Regions from separate parts of the Homo sapiens genome. Here all the other regions are linked to region 2. Evidence: promoter capture Hi-C in 16 types of primary human blood cells and fetal thymus (Javierre and others, 2016). All regions are on one chromosome and are shown on one strand. The core of a region is centred on a gene start or on the middle of the fragment in contact, and the rest is flanking DNA. Distances in the headings are between cores, read along the strand shown. Region 1 holds the start of CD209 (CD209 molecule). Region 2 holds the start of ARHGEF18-AS1 (ARHGEF18 antisense RNA 1). Region 3 overlaps LOC124904628 (a long non-coding RNA gene).

Evidence for each region. Contacts are between HindIII fragments. The CHiCAGO score rates a contact against its expected background, and 5 or more counts as called.
Region 1: a contact is called between the fragment with the promoter of CD209 here and the fragment with the promoter of ARHGEF18-AS1 in region 2, in 1 of 17 cell types (M1 macrophages). The highest score is 5.0, in M1 macrophages.
Region 3: a contact is called between a fragment that was not itself captured here and the fragment with the promoter of ARHGEF18-AS1 in region 2, in 2 of 17 cell types (megakaryocytes and M2 macrophages). The highest score is 6.8, in megakaryocytes.

Annotation. Positions count from the first base shown.
Region 1 is chr19:7,745,627-7,749,493 of GRCh38, reverse strand. It overlaps CD209 (CD209 molecule), which reads left to right and starts at 1,960. Exons shown (of 7, transcript NM_021155.4): 1 at 1,960-2,028; 2 at 2,129-2,188; 3 at 2,963-3,034; 4 at 3,407-3,867. The coding sequence starts at 1,983. RefSeq lists a silencer at 317-611, an enhancer at 391-892, cis regulatory regions at 1,112, 1,647, 1,782, 1,844, 1,853-1,857 and 8 more and promoters at 328-1,964, 1,518-1,966, 708-1,966, 328-1,966, 1,746-1,982 and 7 more. The HindIII fragment of the contact is 13,171 bases long and covers 1-3,867 here.
Region 2 is chr19:7,393,681-7,397,702 of GRCh38, reverse strand. It overlaps ARHGEF18-AS1 (ARHGEF18 antisense RNA 1), which reads left to right and starts at 2,644. Exons shown (of 2, transcript NR_186326.1): 1 at 2,644-2,710. All of the region lies in intron 10 of ARHGEF18 (Rho/Rac guanine nucleotide exchange factor 18), which reads right to left. RefSeq lists an enhancer at 1,777-1,956 and silencers at 2,167-2,736, 2,445-2,885. The HindIII fragment of the contact is 12,223 bases long and covers 1,904-4,022 here.
Region 3 is chr19:7,803,881-7,807,813 of GRCh38, reverse strand. The region is part of intron 1 of LOC124904628 (a long non-coding RNA gene); the gene reads right to left. Among named protein-coding and RNA genes, the nearest start is that of EVI5L, 24 kb to the left of the region's middle. The HindIII fragment of the contact is 161 bases long and covers 1,325-1,485 here.

The DNA.
Region 1 (3,867 bases), core at 711-3,210, 350 kb before region 2:
CTGCCTCCCAGGTTCAAGCAATTCTTCCGCCTCAGCCCCCTGAGTAGTTGGGACTACAGACACGTGCCATGCCTGGCTAATTTTTTTTGTATTTTTAAAAGAGATGGGGTTTCACCATGTAGCCAGGAGGGTCTCGAACTCCTGACCCTGTGATCCGCCCACCTCAGCCTCCCAAAGTGTTAGGATTACAGGCGTGAGCCACCATACCTGGCCTTAGACAGATATTTTTTATGTAATGATACTGCTCCTTGTGAAGCAGGGCTAACTCATAGGCAGTGCACCCAGAGTCAACAACATACAAGCTCTTGGCAGCTGTAGTTATACTCATGTCAACTCACTTTCAGTTATACGTCAGTTAAGGGGTGGGTCAATGCAAATTGAGGAGCAGGTTCTTTAGAAGTTTTAAGGAAAAGGGCGAAGATGTCCAGGTTGTTTCCATGGAAACAGGTGGGAACTTCTAGGTCATTGCCATGGCATCGGTAAACAGTCATGGCACTGGAGGGAGTATCTTATGCCCACGAGCAATGAGGCAGCCAGGGATTGCTTTTGTTGCCATCTGCTGGTTCCTGCTGGTTTCTTCACATCATCTCATCTGGACCAGATTCTGTATGGGTCTGCAGGGTTGTGGCCAGAAAACAAGTTCTTCCAGTTTCCTACCTCATTACCATGTGAAATGTTACCATTAGGAGAAACTGGGTTCACATTAGGGATCCCTAGGTGAGGGATTTACATATGGGAAATCTCTTTCCTACATTTGCAACTTTGCTATAAACCCAAAATTATTCTAAAATTAAAACATTTTAAAAAAGAATACAAAGTAAAGATCAGGTCGAAAACCACTATTTGATTATGATACATGTATGTATTTTCCATCTTTAAACTGAGATTTAACACACATGTGGTAAATGCACATCTCTATGATCAAAATATAGAACATTTCCAGCATACAGAAACCCCGTTGTCAATCTCCACCTGCTCCTTCCTGATAATTCCCATTCTGAGTCTCCTTCAAAGGTTAGTTCTGCCTGTTCTCAAAATTCACACAAAATCAAATCTTACAGTGTGTACTCACTCTGTCTGGGTCCTTTTACTGTTTTGTGAGATTTATCTATGTTATTAAATGTACTAGTACTTTGCTTTTTCATTGCTGTATAGTATTCCAATCTTTGAATATGCCATTATATTTTTTATCATTCACCTGCTGGTGGACACGGGGTTGTTCCAATTTCAGATCATTCTAAATAAAGCTGCTATGGATCTTTTCTTTCCTCTTTGATACTATTTCACTCTTTGGTTAACAGCATGCACTGTGGAGGCAGACTGGGTTCAAGTCTCAGCCCCACCATCTACCAGCTGTGTGACCTTGGGCCAGTTAGCTAAACTTGCAGTGCCTCCTCAGTTTCCTCATCTGTATAATGGAGGTCATATGATCTACTGAAGGGTAGGAACATTAAATGAATGAGTTTATAAAGCTGTTGGAAAAGTACCTGACTACCCTAGGCATTAAATAAACAAGCAATTATGATTCTGCCCCAACTCCCAAAGTCAGCAGGAATTCCCAAAAATGAGGACAGCAGCAGCTCAAAGCAGGAAAGCCAGGAGGTCACAGGGGACAGTGCTTCCAGGAACTGGGGGTGCTACCTGCCTACCCTTGCCCTAGTGGAGGGGGTGTAACACAGTAGCTTTCTCTTACAATTTATCAGATTTCATTAAAAGCATCCCACTGCTCAGCCATCCATGAGTGGATGAGTCCTTCTCCCTGTCAACCCCAGACCATCCCCCACTGCCTCCCTGAAATTCTTGAAAGATCCGGCCCATCTCATGCTCTGATGCTTTCCACTAGTCTTTTGGATGACAGATCCCTACCCAACTTCCTGTTTCTCTTTCTGTGGGAGACTAGATTTAGGAAGTAAAGATCACAGGGTGGGAAATAAAAGCTGTGGCCCCCAGGAGTTCTGGACACTGGGGGAGAGTGGGGTGACATGAGTGACTCCAAGGAACCAAGACTGCAGCAGCTGGGCCTCCTGGGTGAGGCTGGGTTGGGACGCTGGGATTCTGGGAAGGGGGAAGGGATGGCCAGCCATGGCCTCAGCCTGCCCAGGCTCTGATTTCACGTCTATCCATTCAGAGGAGGAACAGCTGAGAGGCCTTGGATTCCGACAGACTCGAGGATACAAGAGCTTAGCAGGTAGAGAGGACTTAGCAGTTTGGGAGGAGAGACGAGAGACTCCTGGACTCCTGGGTCCTGAGGAGCTGGACGCTGGGGCCTGGACTCTTGGGTCCTGGGGATGTGGGGCTAGGGGCCTGGACTCCTGGGACCTGAGGAGGTTGAGTTTGGGGCCTGAATTCCTGGTTCCTGGGAAGGTGGAGGCTGGGGCCAAGACTCCTGGGTTCTGGGGAGGTAGAAGTTGAAGCCTGGGTTCCTGGGTCCTGGGGAGGTGGGGTCAGGGGCCTAGACTCCTGGGTCCTGGAGAGGTGGGGGCCTGGGCCTGGACTCCTGGGTCATGGGGAGGTGGGGACTTGGGCCTGGGTTCCTGGGACCTGGGGATGTAGGGGCTGGGACCCAGATTCTTGGGTCTTGGGGAGGTGGGAGCAGGTACCTGGGTTACTGGGACCTGGGGAAGGGGAGGCTGGGTCCTGGGTCCCTGGGTCCTGGGGAGGTGGGAGCTGGGGGCCTGGGTTCCAGGGACCTGGGAATGTAGAGGCTGGGGCCTGGATTCCTGGGTCCTGGGGAGGTGGAAGCAGGTACCTGGTTCCTGGGACCTGGGGAAGGGGAGGCTGGGGACGGGGTCCCTGGGTCCTGGGGAGGTTAGAGCTAGGGCCTGGATTCCCAGGTGTTGGAGTGGAGGGGGCTGGGGCTGGGGTTCCTGGGTCCTGGGGTGCTGAGGGATTTAGACCAGGCTCTCCCTGGGCCAGGCTCCGGTGGGGACACTGGCAGGCTGACGCATGTATCCTCTCTCAGGGTGTCTTGGCCATGGTCCCCTGGTGCTGCAACTCCTCTCCTTCACGCTCTTGGCTGGGCTCCTTGTCCAAGGTCAGGGGCAGGTTCTGAGGGTCTGGGGTCCCCACGCCTGGCTTTTGGCTGTGGACACAGCCTGGGGCTGCCAGATCTGGGAGGGAGGTGGGACTGAGAGCCAAGATGTTGTCCCTGGGGGTCTGTAGGGGCCTCTCCCACAGCCCCTCCCCACTCTAGGGCAGGACAGGAGAGGGAGGAGGAGGAGGACAGGAAGAATCTGGCTCTCCTTGGCCTTCTGTGCTGCCTTCTCCAGGTGTCAGTTTTCTTCATCTTCAAAGGGGATTAACCAAGACCTTGGCTCTCACAAATGATGTCCCTATGGGGCTCAGTTCAAGGCTTGGCACACAGTAGGTGTTTAATAATTGCAGTTCCTTTTTTTTCTTGGCCCAGTGTCCAAGGTCCCCAGCTCCATAAGTCAGGAACAATCCAGGCAAGACGCGATCTACCAGAACCTGACCCAGCTTAAAGCTGCAGTGGGTGAGCTCTCAGAGAAATCCAAGCTGCAGGAGATCTACCAGGAGCTGACCCAGCTGAAGGCTGCAGTGGGTGAGCTTCCAGAGAAATCTAAGCTGCAGGAGATCTACCAGGAGCTGACCCGGCTGAAGGCTGCAGTGGGTGAGCTTCCAGAGAAATCTAAGCTGCAGGAGATCTACCAGGAGCTGACCTGGCTGAAGGCTGCAGTGGGTGAGCTTCCAGAGAAATCTAAGATGCAGGAGATCTACCAGGAGCTGACTCGGCTGAAGGCTGCAGTGGGTGAGCTTCCAGAGAAATCTAAGCAGCAGGAGATCTACCAGGAGCTGACCCGGCTGAAGGCTGCAGTGGGTGAGCTTCCAGAGAAATCTAAGCAGCAG
Region 2 (4,022 bases), core at 1,395-3,894:
GGAGTGCAGTGGCACGATCTCGGCTCACTGCAACCTCTACCTCCCGGGTTCACGCCATTCTCCTGCCTCAGCCTCCTGACTAGCTGGGACTACAGGCACACGCCATCATGCCCAGCTAATTTTTTGTATTTTTAGTAGAGACGGGGTTTCACCGTGTTAGCCAGGATGGTCTCAATCTCCTGACCTCGTGATCTGCCCCCCCCCGGGCCTCCCAAAGTGCTGGGATTACAGGTGTGAGCCACCGCACCCGGCCCAAAAAATTTTTAAAAATTAGCCAGACATGGAAGCGCGTGTCTGTAGTCCCAGCTACTTGGGAGTTTGTGGCAGGAGGATTATTTGAGCCCAGGAGTTCGAGGCTGTAGTGAGCTATGATTGTGCTATTGCACTCCAGTCTGGGCAACAGAGTGAGACCCTGTCTCTAAAAAGAAAAAAAAAATTTTAAGTAAAATCACATACTAATTTCAGAAGAAAACAAAAACTAAATAAGCTATACAAAACCAAAACAAAGTAACGTTTACAAAAATGAAATGTATTATGCCTGCCAGCTGTTTGCTCTTTTTTGCTCTAGAACAAACACATCTTCATTTTTTTTTTTTTTTTTTTTTCGCAAAAAGGCTTGCTGACCTACAGAAATAGGAAACTACTGATAAAGCGTAAACCCTGACTCGGTCCAAACAACATCCGAGATGCTCAAATTTTCCAAACTCTTTATAATTTGGAATGTTAACCTAAACATCCAAGCCTGGGAGCATTCGCATATGCAAAGGGTGTATAACACTGATGGAAAGTTTGCCATATGCCAGACACTTCTGTGATGCACCTTACACAGATTACTTCATAGAAACCCCAACCAACCCTTATTCCCATTTTAAAGATGGGAAGACGGAAACTTAGTGAAGTTACACGGCTAACAGGTGGTGGAACTGGGACCAGAACCCAGCTCGGATCTGACCTCAAGCCTGTGCTCCTGACACTTCTTTTTTTTTTTTTTTAGACAGTCTTGCTCTGTCGCCAGGCTGGAGTGCAGTGGCCCGATCGCGGCTCACTGCAACTTCTGCCTCCCGAGTTCAAGTGATTCCCCTGCCTCAGCCTCCAGAGTAGCTGGAACTACAGGCGCCCGCTACCATGCCCGGCTAATTTTTGTATTTTAGTAGAGATGGGGTTTCACCATGTTGGCCAGGATGGTCTCGATCTCCTGACCTCGTGATCCACCCACCTTGGCCTCCCAAAGTGCTGGGATTACAGGCTTGAGCCACCGCGCCCAGCCTCTCCTGACACCTCTTACAGCTGGAGGATTAATCATTCACTCAGACACCTGCAAAACTCATCCCTTGGCCACTGGGCTGTCTATACTGTCCTGAACTCTCTCTCTGGTCAATGGGAAGAGAATGGGGCCCTTCAAAGCTACTGGCTGGAGCTTCATCTCCGCGAAAACAAGGCAAAGGGGAAAAGGTGTGTTGGCCGCTTCGCTTCCGTGGTAAAACTTTAAGAATGTTTTTTAATCCTGTGGTCCAGGCTTTAATCTCAACAGAGCAAGAGATAAGGGGCAGATAGCCACAGCAAAACACTCAAGTGCTAGTAGAATTAACGCAGGAAAAGAAAACCAAATACTGCACTTTCCCACTTGTAAGTGGAGCTAAACCTTGGGTACTCATGGACACCAAGAAGACAACAGAAACTGGGCTCTACTAGAGCGGGAAGGGAAGGAGGAGGTCAAGGGTTGAAACTATCTATTGAGTACTATGCTCAGTACCTGGGTGACGAGATCAGTCACACCCCAAACCTCAGCATCACGCAATATATCCAGGTAACAAACCTGTACATGTACCCCCTCAATCTCAAATAAAAGTTGAAATTTAAAAACGTAAAACAAAACGAAACATGTAAGGACCAGGGGAAAGCTTCTCGTTCCCGTCCGCAATGAAAGCACCAACTGAGTTCTTATACAAGAAACTAAAACCCATGGCACAGATAGTTCTCACGGTTTTGCACCCAAACGCTCCCTGCCAGGGAGGGCTGTCTGCTCCGGGGTGTGAGGGTTCTCCCGGGAGGCCTGAAATACGACGGTGCTGGGTATTGTGGTGGGTTCCATTCCATCCCTGGTCCTGCCCCGGGCGCTCCTGAACGAGGAGCAGAGGCTGGGGCCCAAGTGACCCCTCCTCTCCTCTCCTGGAGGAGAGTAAGCCGTAGCACCCCAGGACTGGCTGGGGCTCGGACGGAGCGGGCGGGCATCGTCTGCACCTCTGCACCCTGCAATCGCCGCCTAGAGCCTCCATGCATTGAAGGAGCAGCCTGCACCCCAGCACCCGTTCGCCTGCCTGGAGAAGTCCCCCAGGAGCCGGCGGGAGGCCCGAGGCAGCCCCGGGGGTCCCGCGCCCCAGGCCACCCCCTGAAGAGACCGAGGGCCCCCTCCTGAGCCCCGTTTTCCTCGGGACCGCCCCGCCGCCGTCCTCACCTCGGCCCGATCGCCCGCAGGCCGCTCTCCGCCAGCTCCTCTGCCACTCTCGCAGCCGCCTCCGATGCCTCCGTCCGGCCCCCCCAGATCCACAGTAGCTAGCAGCTGGGAGCCGGAAGCGGGAAGCCGCGCGAGGAGAGCAGCGCATGCGCGATCCCGCCTCGGAGGCGGGGCAGAGGGCGTGACCCGGAAGGAGGCGTGCCCTCGAGGGCGGGGCGCTCCCGGGGACCTGGGGCTGCTGCTCCCCGAGCCGTGGTGAGGGGGCGTCGGCTCGGCCTTGAGAGGGGCGCGGGCACCGAAGTGGGAGGGTGCTCGCGGCGAGGGTGAGGGCGACTTTTGAGGGGCGGGTCAGCGGGGTTGGGGGGCTTTTTGAAGGAGAGCAATGCGAGCCTGGCTGTCAGTAGGGCCGGGGGCTCTGAGGGGACAGCTGGGTTGCGGGGATCCAGAGGGAGAGCAGCAGGGTTAGGTGGGCGTTTTGTGGGGTTAACGGAAGCCTGGGTGATTAGCGCGGCTGGGGAGGGAGTCCTGAGGAGGACAGCGGTTTGGAGAATCTCAAGGGGGGTACAGCACAGTTAGGGGGACCCTGAGGGAGGACAGCGGGGTTGGGGGACCCCAAGGGAGGACAGCGGGGTTGGGGGGACCCCGAGGGAGGACAGCGGAGTTGGGGGACCCCGAGGGAGGATAGCGGGGTTAAGGGGACCCCAAGGGAGGACAGTGGAGCTGGGGGTGTTTTGGAAGAATCAACGGATGCCTGGAGGGGTTGTCAGTGGGCTCCTACGGGCTCGTTAGGATTGGAAGTACCTAAGGGGGGCACTCCCAGTGGTGGGGAGTCCTAGCGGGGAGAGTCCAAGAAATGGAGAGGGCAGGGTCTGTCACCTGAGAAAAAAGAAGCAGCATCAGGGAGTGGTGGGGGGATCACTTCATCCCAGGAGTTCAGGACCACCAGTCTGGGCAACATAGCAAGACCCCATCTCTACAAAACATTTTTTAAAATGAGCAGGGCATGGAGGCGCCTGCCTGTGGTCCCAACTCCTCCAGAGGCTGAGGTGGGAGGATGACTTGAGCCTGGGAGGTCCAGGCTGCGGTGAGCTATGATCATGCCTCCAGAGGCTGAGGTGGGAGGATGACTTGAGCCTGGGAGGTCCAGGCTGCAGTGAGCTATAATCATGCCACTGCACTCCAGCCTGGACAACAGAGCAAGACTCTGTCTCAAAATAACAACAACAAAAAAAGAGGCAGCATAGACTTCAGAAAGGTGGGTCTGGGAAAAATGAATCATATACCTCTCCAGTGGTCTCAGACACCCCAACATAGATACCATCAGATCCCCTAAACACAGGCACCCAGGCAGGTGCCATCAGATACCCAAAACAGGCTTCCAGGTAACCCCCAAATATGTCAGACACTCCACATAGGTCCAGCAGATACCCCCAAACACATACTAGATAACCCCAATACAGATGCTGTCAGATACCCTCAAACAGGTGCTCAGAGTCTGAAACACATACCATACCCTCCCCTATCCACTTCCACACAGGTGCTATTTGGCAGATGTGGATAGGCCAGA
Region 3 (3,933 bases), core at 156-2,655, 410 kb before region 2:
GGGGCCACGAAGGGAAGTGAAAATGATGTGGTCCTCATTGCTTTCACAGTTTCAAACCCAACTCCAGTGTTTATCAGCTGATGGGCTGTGGGCAGGTGACTCATCTCTGAGCCACTATGCTCATAGGTAAAATGAGAATGAGGGCGGCTGTGTTACCGGATTCTTTGAGGTCATATCCAAAAAACACATAGCACAAAATAAATGCTCATGAGATGCAGAGGCCAGGTGTGGTGGCTTATGCCTGTGATCCCAGCACTTTGTTTTTCTGTTTGTTTTGTTTTGAGACAGAGTCTTGCTCTGTCACCCAGGCTGGGTGCAGTGGCAAGATCTCGGCTCACTGCAAACTCCACCTCCCAGGTTCAAGCGATTCTGCTGCCTCAGGCTCCCAAGTAGCTGGGATTACGGGCTCCCGCCACCAAGCCCGGCTAATTTTTGTATTTTTAGTAGAGATGGGATTTTGCCATGTTGGCCAGGCTGGTCTCGAACTCCTGACCTCGGGTGATCCACCTGCCTCGGCCTCCCAATGTGCTGGGATTACAGGCGTGAGCCGCTGCACCCGGCCACTGTAATCCCAGCACGTTGGGAGGCCAAGGTGGGAGGATCGCTTGAGTCCAGGAGTTCCAGACCAGCCCAGGAAACATAGTGAGACCCTGTCTTTACAGACAAAAAATTAGCTGGGTGTGGTGCCGTGAGCCTGTGGTCCCAGCTGCTCAGGAGCCTGAGGCAGGAGAATCCCTCAAGCCCAGCAGGTTGAGGCTGCAGTGAGCTGAGACTGCCAAAGATTGCGCCACTGCACTCCAGCCCAGGTGACAAAGCGAGACTCGGTCTCAAGAAAAAAAAAAAAGAAAAGATACAAAAAAAAACAAGAATAAACCCTATTGAATTGGAGGTACTGAGGTGAATTCATGGTTTTCAAAATATAAAGATAAATATAGAAATAAGTTTGTGTGTGTGTGTGTGTGTGTGTGTGTGTGTGTGTGTTCCCATTTATCTACTAAGAGGACCTGGGAGCCACATACCCCAGTAACAATGGGCACACTTAACACCCAGATCATTTCTAACTGCCAATCTCCACCTAGCCCAGGGCTTTTTGGAAAAATGAGAGCAGCCTGGGCAACATAGCAAGACCCATTTCTACAAAAAATTTAAAAATTAGCCAGGCGTGGTGGCGTGCTCCTGTAGTCCTAGTTACTTGGGAGGCTGAGGCAGGGTTGGGGGGGACAAAAGCCTAGAACATCTAGTTAGGCCAGGAAGGAAGAAAAAACGATCAGCAAAAAACCAATAGGAATATGTCAAAAGGACCCAGAAGCCAGAGAGAAAAGCTTTCACTGGCCAAATTAAAGATAATTTAAGCATCGAAGGGGAAAAAAAAGAACGTCAGCAAAATGGCAGAGTAAAATTTGCCTTTCTACAAAAGCAATGAAAAAAACTGGCAAAATTTGACAGAATCAACATTTTCACAACTCTGGAAATTAACCAAAAGCTTACAGTAATTTGCAGAGCATTTAATTAAAAAAAAAAACACATAAAAAAACAGCAAGCTCTGTAGAATTTTAACTCACTCTAGTCTTATTCCTGGCTCTCCAGCTCAGAGGGTAGCCTTGAAAAATAACAGCCCACAATCTTGATACCATACGGAAAAGAACAGAGGTGCGGCTCCTTCAAAACCTCATTCAGGATCATTCAAGAAGAGGTGTGTGTGTGTGTGTGTGTGTGTGTGTGTGTGTGTGTGTGTGTGTGTGTTTGAGACAGAGTCTCGCTCTGTCGCCCAGGCTGGAGTGCAGTGGCGTGATCTCGGCTCACTGCAACCTCCTTCTCCTGGGTTCAAGCGATTCTCCTGCCTCAGCCTCCGGAGTAGCTGCGATTACAGGTGCCCGCCACCATGCCTGACTCATTTTTGTGTTTTCAGCAGGGACAGGGTTTCACCATGTTGACCAGGCTAGTCTCAAACTGCTTACCTCAAGTGATCCACCCACCTCGGCCTCCCAAAGTGCCGGGATTACAAGCGTGAGCCGCCGCACCCAGCCAAGAAGAGTCATTTATTGACCTATTTATTGGTACTCTGGAAGACCCTGCTCTGAAAGACCTGACCTCACTTGAACTTGCCGGATGCTAAACATTTCTCCCCAGGGGCTATTTGTTAAATGTTTTAACATTGCAGCTGCCTGTGGCAATACTTAACAGTTGGGGAAATAATAGCCTAACTAAAAATCTTAGAAGGAAAAGCGCCAGGCGCGGTGGTTCACGCCTGTAATCCCAGCACTTTGGGAGGTCGAGGCGGGAGGATCACTTGAGGTCAGGAGATCGAGACCATCCTGGCTAACACGGTGAAACCCCGTCTCTACTGAAAATACAAAAAATTAGCCGGGTGTGGTGGCGGGCGCCTGTAGTCCAAGCCAGGAGAATGGTGTGAACCCAGGAGGCGGAGCTGGCAGTGAGCCGAGATCGCGCCACTGCACTCCAGCCTGAGCCACAGAGCGAGACTCCGTCTCAAAAAAAAAAAAAAAAAAAATCTTAGAAGGAAAAATGAAGACATTAGATGTTCGGAGGGACTTTTGAAAAATTCTGACATATTTCTGGGGATATGGAAGGCCACATGCTTAGGAAAGACCTGAGACAGCCCTAAGCTCACACCGCTGGCCGACTTCGAGGCTCTGTGTAAGCAGGAAGTGAGAGCTAAAGCACAGTTGTAAATTTCCTGGGTGAATGTTGAAGGTGTGTCCCTAATAAGTACACAGAGCTCCCTGGCAAAGACTGGCAGACTTCCGATTCCAGACATTCAAGGAAATCTCTGTCCAACCACTAGCTAACCATGAAGCTAACTGAGCAAAGACTTCAGTAGCCATGACAGAGAATATAGACTTTACAGAAGTAGTTTAGAAAAGTCATTTAACAGGCCTGGCACAGTGGCTCATGCCTGTAATCCCAGCACTTTGGGAGGCTGAGACAGGTGGATCACCTGAGGTCAGGAGTTCGAAACCAGCCTGACCAACATGGTGAAACCCTGTCTCTACTAAAAATACAAAAATTAGCCAGGTGTGGTGGGGTGTGCCTGTAATCCCAGCTACTCAAGAGGCTGAGGCAGGAGAATCGCTTGAACCCAGGAGGCAGAGGTTGCAGTAAGCCGAGATCACGCCATTGCACTCCAGCCTGGGCGACAGAGCGAGACTCCACCTCAAAAAAAACTATTTTTATAGTGACAGGGTCTCACTATGTTGCCCAGGCTGAGCTTGAGCCCCTGGGCTCAAGTGATCCACTGACTTTAGCTTTCCAAAGTGTTGGGATTACAGGCATGAGCCATCACACTCGGCCAGCTGTTGGCATTTAGAATAGTCTTTCTAGCAAGACCAATATTCCAGGACCATAAAAGCTGACTGAATATCTGTTCTAGGATGAGGGATAGGCTCCAGGGATTCCTTTCTTCCCTGGAAGGTTGACTCTTGTGTGTTGGGGAGTGGGGCAGGGGGGTGGGCTGGGGCCAAGGGCCAGGGAGGACAATTTGGTCCTGACTCTCTTATTTGGGGTCTTTATGGATCTGCTCTAACACCAGCCAGTTAGAGCCAGGAGACTGCAAGCTGGGACCTGTGCATTGATCAGGTATGCCTGAGGCCAATGGTGAAGGGAGGATGGACCCTTTGAATCCAGTTATTTGGCTCTCTGGGCTCCTGCCCTGAGGTTCCCTCCAGCCCTGCTGCCCCAGCATCTAAGCCTGGAGTACCAGGGGCTCGAGGGCATGCGTGAGCCATGGACAGGATCCTGGGGAAGTTCCAGCTTAACCTGGGGGCCTCTTCCTTCTGCCCCAGCCACAGCCGGTACTTACTCAGCTCCACCCCCAGGAAGAGACTCCTGGGCTTCTCCTGTCCACCTGTGCTTCCATTGTACATTTGTCACTACAACCTGGAAGAGGCTCTGCCGTTGAGGTTGTCAGTCAGC